Linked DNA regions of Homo sapiens: region 1 is linked to region 2. Evidence: promoter capture Hi-C in 16 types of primary human blood cells and fetal thymus (Javierre and others, 2016). All regions are on one chromosome and are shown on one strand. The core of a region is centred on a gene start or on the middle of the fragment in contact, and the rest is flanking DNA. Distances in the headings are between cores, read along the strand shown. Region 1 has its middle 36 kb from the start of ADAM30. Region 2 holds the start of REG4 (regenerating family member 4).

Region 1 (5,433 bases), core at 290-2,789, 48 kb after region 2:
CCACAGCATTTCCCAAGACCCTCTAATTTGGCAGGACTCAATCACCAATCCACCCCTTTGTGGATTTTGACAGGGTTTGATTTCAGGCTTTACTAGGGCTGGTCTAGAAGGGGTTTTAAAGCATGACACTTATTCCTAAAGCACAGCCATTCTAGTGTCTTAGTTGGATACCTGGGTGCTAATGAGGTGTGCATGGGTTCTTCCCACCCTGGATGGCAGGAACTCCATCATCCATTCCCCAATCCTCCTCCACCTCAAGTACCGCTGGTCCAAACTCAATTTTATAACAGCCACCCCTCTGTTAAATCTGTTAGTCTTTTCCTCGTGCAGGTACAGTCTAGTCCTTGATAAGTATGCACATGGAACCCCACATGGACTTCGAGAGCTCCCCCTCTGAACAGCTGTCTCCTATTGGTGCCCTGCCCTGCAGATTGCAATTTCTTCAGTGGCCTTGAACTCTGATCTCTGCCTTCTTTCTCAGCTCAGTGGGGCTGCCCTGCTCTGAGTGGACTCTAGCCCACTGTGCAGCTGCTGAGAAATTCTTCCCAGACAAAGAACTAGGAAATCACAGGGCTTCTCCCTTAAGTATCCTGTTGTACTGCCTGTTGTCCACTGTCTGAAAACAATTTTATGGTTGTTTATGGAGGCAGGATTGGTCTGATATGATTTATTCTAACAGACAGAAGCAGAAATCTGTTATACTCTTTAATTATTGTGTCTTTATAATATTATGGTAGACAGAATCCTAAGATGACCCCCAGTGATCTTTGCTCTTATATAATCACTTCTTCCTGAGTGTAGACAAAGCCAGTGATGAGCTATCACTCCTGTGATTCTGTTACAATTTGTGGCAAAAACAAGTCAGCAGATGTAATCGAGATCCCAAATCAGTCAAATCTAAGATAGAGATTATCTTATGAGCTTGACCTAATGAAGGTGAGTTCCTTGGGGGGACTGAGGTCTTCCTGGAGAGATGTGAAGTGCAGGAGGGTTTCCATGCAGGGCGATTCTCTCTGCTGGCTGGAGGAAGCATGCACTGGGAACACAGGAGGCCTCTAGGAGCAGCGAGAGGCCCCTGGCTGACAGCCAGCAAGAAAACAGAGATCTCAGTCCTACAGTCACAAGGAACTGAACTCAGCTGACAACCTGAGGAAACTTGAGAGGAAGTTCTTCCCCAGAACCTCCAGAAAGAAACCCAGCCTAATCTCAGCCTGTGAGGCCCGGAGAAGAAGACCCAGCTAATCCAGGCCTGAACTTCTGATCTGTGGACACTGCAAGAAAGTAAATGGTTGTTATTTTAAGCCTCTAAAGCTTGCAGTAATTTTGTATGCAGCAATAGAAAATTAATACAAATAAAATGAAGAAGACTTTGGAGTGGGGACAAGAATGAAACGGTGGGAAAGGGATGCCTGTATGCTGATACGGTTGATGCCTGTATGGTTGAATTGGGTCTACCATTCCTCAACTAATTAGCTATGGTCTATTAACGTGCGTAGCTATACACAAATACTGGTACTAGGTTGAATCCTGAGGGAGAAGATATTGCATTCTTGAGAGCAGACGAGAACATCCTGAATTTGGGGTCACCGTATCATAAGTCATATACCAGGTCCCTCTGGGAAGGCCTAGAGGAAGATTTACAGGATACACTTGTGACAACATTGAAGGCTTCTTTCTTCCCCAAAGGGACCCGATCTCCCCTCAGTCAAGAAGCTCCAGGTCTCAGAACTGGACGACAGGTTATAAATTCCCACTATACTGATTCCATCAAGCTTCTGTTCACAGAACTAGAGTTTATCAGTAAAAGATAGACTCATGGAAGTCTAGGCATTTATTCTCTTATTTTATATAAATCAGTTAATATGCAGGAACAAAACAGACTTTGAAGAAAGAAAGTCACAGTTGCCACAGGAAAACAGCTTCCACATCCTCATGAGTCATCATGAGTGTTCTGTTGGGAGGACTTGATATGAGGGTTTCCTCCTCATGGGCTAGTACAGATCCGGGGGAAATGTCATCAAGTCCTCGATTCGGAGTGTAGCAGCTGGGGCTGTTGATTTGTTAGGCCTCCTGCAGCTGGAGATGCAAGTAGTGCATTTTCATGTCCACCGCAGGTGTCCTTAGGCTAGCATTTTCAGAGCCAGAATCCAACAAGCCATAGAAGCTCTGAGTATTTCCCTTTCCTCAGTCACCCACATAAAAGGCTTCAGGTCCTTCTGGGGAAGACCTGGAGGAAGATTTACAGCATACACTTGTGGCAGCATTGAAGGCTTCACTCTTCCCCAAGGGATCCAATCTCCTCTCATCTGAACTTGATACCAGGTCATAAATTCCCACTATGGTAACTCCAACAGGTCTCTGTCCTCAGAACTAGAGCTTTCCTAATTATTACATAAGTTGGTTTCTTAGTGGATTTCCCATCCATTACATCCCAGACACCTCACAATGATTGGTCACCACCACGTGTCCCTGCCTCTCAAGGAAATCCCTTCGGCCTTGTCTCTAGACAGCCGAGTCCCATGGCCTGTCCTCTACTCTTCCAGAACCCTGCTGTTCTCACTGACAGCAGGGAGGGCAAATCCATGCAGCATCTCCCGCCATGACCTCCAGCCTGCAGAGGAGAGGCGCCACAGGACCTTTACACACACACTGCTGTTCCCCTCACCCATGCATTTCTTAATGCCTTGGTGAGAAGAATGTCTCTGGATCTTCCTTGATGGGAGCTAAAAGAACAAAGGTAAATAATGTTATGGGACCCACTGAGAATTGGGGCTGTGGAAGAGTGGCCACTGAAGTAATAGACAGATGCAGCTATTGCCAGATACTCAGTGCCAGAGCAGGGAGGGAGAGGGAAGAAATACGGACCTCACCTTCCTCTCACTTCCAGGCTCCACTGGGTGCCCCCCATTGCTAAACCTAACTGGAAGTGTGCACGCAGGGGAGCCAGGGATGCATTCTAGAAGGGACAAGCCCCGAGTGGCATAAGACAGGGTGGAAATGAGTGGAGAGTGGATCTGTGGTCAGGTGGAGGGGATGTTATAGGGGAAACAAAAGGAGCATACTAGCTAATAATGCTAGATGACACTAATATCCCAAAGTCTTTGCTCTATTCAGAAAAGAAAATTCAGCATAAAGCACTCAACCAGGAGTCAAGATATTATATTTTCAACTGTTGTTCCAACAGCTGTATTATAAAGGGCCAGTTCATTTCATGCCTTTTTAATTTGACTTAAACTGCCAGGTGGCATTGGGGCTGGCACAGCCATGTTCAATTATGTGTTGAAGAATACACAGAGACTGCCAGGCTGAGGGAAGATACAAGAGAATAGAAGAGGTGCTCACAGAGAACAACAGACCATGAGGCCCCAGAGTCAGTTGCAGCAACAGCCACTATCGGCTGCTCATTTTCCCAGACAGAGCCCACAAGCCTCAGCCATGCTTTGCTTCTGCAGGATGCTTCTTCACCTTTTCAATAAACCTGCCTGAATTTAAGCTGACAGGAGTTTATTTCTCCTTCATCATAAATGAAATTCTTCACCACAACAATCCCCAGTGAATTGTGGGCACAGAAGGCAGGCCCATCCCTGCTTCTGTTCCACTATCTCCCTGTAGGCTGAAAAGGAGGAGGTACTGAATTAACTCCAAATGTTCCTCTGGCTCCGATATTCTGTGATTCTGGTTTCTTTTCGGCTACTTTGCTTTTGGAAGCATGTATCCTAAGGCGTCCAGTTGAACAACCTTTGTCTACTGTGTCCGGGCATTCCTGGTGGTAGTTCAGACAAGACACTCTTGGGTTGCTGCACTCACAACCACTGAACCAATTCTATGACCATCTGTTTCATGGCCACCTGTTTGCTCATTTTGTGTGTACATAAAGGGAGGAGACAGACAGCAAACTTGCATGTTATAAATTGTATCATCTTAGGAAACAAGGCAAGACTTTGCAATAAAACCTTAAGATGCATTAATTTTAATCCTAATGCAATAAAGAATGCCCATAAAATTCTTATCTAAAGAATGTTTAGAAAGTTGTTGAACAAGGGACATCATCATTTAAAGTGATATGAAGAAACCTTCTCAGCTAAGCATACGGGCTAGATTAGACAGAAAAGTAAAGGACCCATCTCTGCCCTGGAAAAACTACCGGTAGCATCTTTCAAAAAGCTCTCTGTGTTTGAGTACATACCTTGATCCATAGGCTCACATTTGATCCCAACTGGCGGCTGCTTCTTGGCATTAACAATGGATTCCCAACCAGTAAATCTTAGCAAGATCTGAGTTTCTCCAGGTATGATATTATTTTGTTTGACCATCCTTATCTTCAAGGGCTACCAAGAAGGAACAAAGAATTTATTTGCTTTCCCATGAGAAAAGGTTTTACCAATGAGACACTTTCTTACCATGACCCCAGGGCACCCTATACCTTGTTCACTTGAGTGCCCTGTGTGGCCTGGCAGAAGCTCATGCTGGTCACAGGGTTCTTTATATGATTAACCTCCTTTCTGAATCCCAACTTCATGGTGGTGGTGATGACAGGTGTCCTGTATCCCATGCTCATGTCCCTGAAGGCATCAGCCATGTCTCCAGTTAGAAAAAATTACATGTATCTAGAGAGGCCTCTTTGGAAGTAGTAAAAGCTTTCTCACCTTCATACATTAATGGCTGGAATGTACAATAGTATAAACACTTCAGGAAAAAATGTCTGGCATATTCTTACAGAACTAAACAACTATCTATTCTATGACTCAGTAATTCCTAAGCATTTATCCAAGAGAAATTAAAACATATGTCCAGAAAATAATTTATACAAGAAGGTTCATAGCAGTTTAATTCATAATAGGAAAAACTAGAAAAATTGAAGTATCTGTCAATACAAGAATGGATCAATAAACTGTGATACATTCATTCCATGGAATGGCTAAAGGAACAAATGGTTGACACACAAAACATGGACGAATCTCAAAAACATTTCAAGTGCAATAGGAGCCATATGCAAAAGAGTACTCACTTTTTAATTCCATTGATAGATGTTCTGATGGAAAAAAAAAGCAGTATTTGCCTATAGATAAAGTCAAAATTGACCAGGAAGGGGCATGAAGAAATTTTATGGTGAGGAGAATGTTCCATATGTTTATATGCATTTATCAAAACTCATCTAATGTTCACTTATAATTTGAGCATTTTATTGTATGTAAATTGTACCTGAAAAGCAAAAAAACTATAGATAAATATTGAACTTTAGGAAAGGATGTGAATGCTGAAGGATTCAGTGGGATGTGAATTCAGTGTACTGATGTCTGTAGTTTACTTGAAATGCATCAAAAAACATAGATGAATGAAGAGGTGGATTGGGAGATGGGTAAATATATAGATATATGATAAAGCAAGGATAGTAAATATTAATGATAGAATCTAGGGGATAGGTATATAGGT
Region 2 (4,657 bases), core at 1,292-3,791:
ATATGGAGGAAAATAATACAATATTTTCCTGGCTAAATCCAGACTTTATAATGAAGGGAATCTCAAGTTAGATGTACAGGTTAGAAAATTTTAAGAGATTTTGTTCTTACCTGCAAGACCTCCTGGGCCAGTGCCAGAGATCTAACTATAGCAGGCTGAACAGTTTCATAGTCTGCATGGAGGCAATTTGTAAACCACCGAGCACTCGCCCCTGTTAGCTTCAGGAGGGCCAGCAGAGGGCGCCCAAGGCAAGCTTCCTCACAGGTAAGACGGATATGGGCATTCTGTTGTCAAGAAAATCCAATAGAATGGCTCCGACATTGAATTTTTAAATGTTAAAATTAAACGTGAGCACAGTGTCCAATACCCACATTTTACAGATGAGAAAACCTGAGGTCAGTAAGTATGAAGTCATTTGTTCATGGACACCAGCTATAAGCAGATCTGACTCCATCAGCACTCTTTCCTTTACACTTAGTTGACATCATTTTTAAAAATAAAGAACATGGCTTTATCTTTTCCCCATTAGCAAACAACACATGAGCTATTAGAAAATCAATGCAAAACTAGAAAATAAGAAGTAAATCCCATCTCCAGGAGATAATTTGGTGAGTAGCCTACAGATATCTTTCTATGCACCTCTCTCTGTGTACAATTTTATAAAAATAAGATCATATAGTCCTATAGCCTGGTTTTGTTTCTCAGAAACAGATTAATTGTAATACATTGTCTTGCACTCACATAACTTTCATGCATTTTTTATTTTTTCTTTAGTATAAATTCTCATATATAGGGTTGTGGCATCACACAACATGCACATTGTCATTTTAATACCCTTTGTTAAAATGTATGGGCTGTGATATTTACCTCATTAATAGGGCACTAAAAGGATTGGTTCCCTAAGCTCCCAGAGAATGCTTAATTTTGTCAAGTTTTTGGCTAATTTTGGTATATTAAAGAAGAACCTTAGTGTTTTAAAATATTTTATAATTACTAATGAAGTTGAACATCTTTTTATATAATGATTTGCTTTTAGTATTTGGTGAATTTTCATTTTACAGTTTTGCACATTTTTCTATTTCATTGTTTGTGAGATCTTTTTTGTATGTTTATTTGTGAGATCTTTTTTGTATGTTTATTGCCTTTCACGTGTTACTAATAGTATTTCTCAGTTTGTATTTTTCTCTTACTTATTATAATTTTTGCCATTCTGAAATTTTCAAAAATATTGTTATTTTTTATGTTTTTAAAAATAATTTTTAAATTTATATCAAAAGACTGGCCATTACTGTCACATAAGGTTAAAATATTTATCACTGTTCTATTTTCATCTGTCTGGGCTTTGTTTTAACATAAGTATGAAACTGAGTTCTGGATTTCCCTCCCAAATAATTCTTAAAATGAGTTAATTCATTGAATTCACATTTAATCATACTTTATGATTAAAAAATCTGAATATACAATCTAACTCTCAAATAATGGATTGCTTAAAGAGAATAATGTAAATGATGACTTTTCTGGAAAATCAATTCTGGGGTCCATCTGAACACTTTAAGGCAACATTAACTGAGAATGAGACAAAGCTTGGAGAGTGTGGATGTGACCTTCCCCACCCCTTACTTCTTTTTAAATCATTGCGTGAACCTTGCACTTTGCTAAACTTTCCTTCCAAAAGTAATAGTGTATTTTCAATGTCCTCAAACCCCTTTAAAACGCAAACAGAATTTCTCTGTCAAGGTGACCATCTGGGGGAAGGGAGAGGCAGCATCTTTTTTACTAATCTGTGAATAATTTTTAGTGAACTGATATTCATTGAATGTCTGCATGTCATGTTCATAAGTAAGCTGCACTGGGCCGGGTGTGGTGGCTCATGGCTGAAATCCCAGCACTTTGAGAGGCTGAGGCAGGTGGATCACCTGAGGTCAGGAGTTCAAGACCAGCCTGGCCAACATGGCACAACCCTGTCTCTATTAAAAAATACAAAAATTAGCTGGGCGTGGTGGCAAGTGCCTGTAATCACAGCTACTCAGGAGGCTGAGGCAGGAGAATCACTTGAACCTGGGAGGCAGAAGTTGCAGTGAGCCAAGATTGCACCATTGCTCTCCAGCCTGGGAGACAGAGCAAGACTCCATAAAAAAACAAAAACAAAAACAAAAACAGAAACAAAAACAAAAAACCTGCACTGTAGATCTCATGAATGCATGTTACAAATGAAGACACTGACACTTATGATTGAGTAACTTTTCTAAAGTTTCCCAGCTACCAGACTGCAGAGCCAAGATTTAACCCAACAGCTTGACACCAAAGCCAATGCTCTTTGCAGTGAAGGAAGAAAAGAAGGTAAATAATTTAAATCAAACAACACAGCAACAGAAAGCCTGACAAGCCTCACTAGAAATACAATTTGTCATTTCTGGCCTGGCTAATAGCTGACAGAGGAAAACAGATGTTTAAAGAAAGTCCCCCATCATCAACCGCGAGGAGGATTACCTGTTTGGCAACCAAGACTCTAAGGGCCCCTGCCTTCTTCAGTGTCTCCAGTGGTCCCAGTCAACGTTTCTGGAGCTTTTATATCTTCTTGCCTCAGGAATTAATAATCTTTACTTTAGTCACAAAGCGATAATATTATTTGAGAAAAACAATCCATCCATAAAAGTCTTATCTACAGTGAAAAAAATGAATCATATAAGAGACGGCTTCAGAATGTACGTAAGGTGTGCTTTGACTAGCCAGGAAAAGAACCTCTCCCTGTGTGCAAACAGAATCTTTTCTTCACATCACGTTATTAAAACTGACAACATCCTGTAATCTGTTATAAGCCCATCTTCCTCTCCCCTTATGTTACTTTTTCATGGCTGTCTTTTTATGCCTTGGTATGGTGGATTTCCTTTATTTCTCTTTTATTTCTAGAAGGATTTTCTGTCAGGGTCAGGAATAGGTTATGACCCATGCGGTGAGACTTGAGACCCACACACAGATTTTCCTTCCTAAAGCACCGACTCCACTCCTTCAACATGCGTGAGTTTCCTCAGAGATCTACTATTTGAGCTTCTCCCGCAGAACATGGATGATCATGTCAAAATAGCTTACATCAACAGAGTGTGTTACAATAACGGGTTTTCAGTGAAGTCATCAAATAAGATGCCAACAAAATCCTTGTGAGCAGCATAGGACACATATCCCCATTACACACTCAAGAAACCCAACCTTAAGAGAGATTAGAAACCTTCCGAGGTTCACAACACTGGTCAGCAGTGGACCTGGACACTGAACCTTGTCCTTCTGACTCCAAATATAGGTGTTTGCCAAAATACAGTTCTACTGAAAAATAGGCTATTTGAAAAGAGTAACAAGATTTTCTTTTCCAGTATAGATGGCAAAGGGTTAGGTTGTAGGTGCCAGAGATGACTCAACTTTAAACTACAGATTTAAGTCTGTAAAGGACCTTTATGTCTGGAAACTTTAAGTCTGGAAGGGACCATAGTAGTTATCAAATCTTACTCTTTTGTTCTACTGGTGAGGAAATTGAGGCCTAGAGAAACATTGTGACTAGTTTAATGCACAGACAGTTGTGGGTGAAGCTGATATCAGAAGCCAGCTTCCTTGCTCCCAGCTCACTGTTGTTTGGAAAATGCTACTCAACCTTTGTTATTAGATTTTTGCATCAGTTGTGTAAATTCATGGTAGGACATGAGAAAGTAATGCTTTCATGGTTCACAAAGAACATTTTAAAGAATCTCTCCCATCAGAATGTTTGACACAAACCTCTTTCTCTTTAGGCAGCTGGATGGGAATCATCATTGCTTCATGGCACAATGGCGTACAAAGATGTTAACTCCAAGCCTTTCAATTTCAGAAGTCCTGGTCCAGATGTAAGACAGAAAAGTTTTAACAAAATGGGTGATTAGATAGATCTCCTGTGTTTCCAGCAGCCATCCCAACCCTTAGTCTGCTATCCCCATGCCATTATCCAGATTTAAAGACTTGAGATGAGAGAGAAGAGAGTAGAACAGATTAGAAAACAAGATGTTCATAGGACTTTTAAGAGGTCTCTTACTGAACCCTCACATTGACTAGCTCCAAATTAAGGCATTGATAGGACTCACATAAACCTTTGAGATGTAAGAATGTAAAGGACCAGAAAATTGTCTGAATCAAAAAGGTCCACTGAATAGTAAGTTTATTTAAAAAAAAAAAGTCTACATATAAACACCTCATACATGAAATGGTCAAAGTGAGAATCCTAAAAGCCCCAAATCAGCAATGATCACCTTCAAAGTGACAAGGATGGGGATGGCACCATAATGGAGAGATAAAGTGGAAGCCAGGCAGCTTTCGAATAGTAGCTTTATTTATTTATTTATTATTTTTAATTTCAATAGGTTTTTGGGGAACAGGTGGTGTTTGGTTACATGATAAGTTCTTTAGCGGTGATTTCTGAGATTTTGGGGCACCCATCATCCAAGCGGTGTATACTATACCCAACGTGTAGCCTTTTATCTCCTGCCACCCCCCACCCTTTCGCCCGAGTCCCCAAAGTCCAGTGGATCGTTCTTGTGCCTTTGCATCCTCATAACTCCCACATATGACTGAAAACATCAGTGTTTGGTTTTCCATTCCTGAGTTACTTCACTTAGAATAATAGTCTCCAATTCCA

The links. Contacts are between HindIII fragments. The CHiCAGO score rates a contact against its expected background, and 5 or more counts as called.
Region 1: a fragment that was not itself captured here is called in contact with the fragment with the promoter of REG4 in region 2 in 1 of 17 cell types (M0 macrophages); the score reaches 5.1 in M0 macrophages.

The regions. Positions count from the first base shown.
Region 1 is chr1:119,857,824-119,863,256 of GRCh38, forward strand. No RefSeq gene overlaps it. Among named protein-coding and RNA genes, the nearest start is that of ADAM30, 36 kb to the right of the region's middle. RefSeq lists a silencer at 843-1,137. The HindIII fragment of the contact is 461 bases long and covers 1,310-1,770 here.
Region 2 is chr1:119,808,919-119,813,575 of GRCh38, forward strand. REG4 (regenerating family member 4) reads right to left here and starts at 2,542. Exons shown (of 6, transcript NM_032044.4): 1 at 2,491-2,542. The HindIII fragment of the contact is 5,277 bases long and covers 1,582-4,657 here.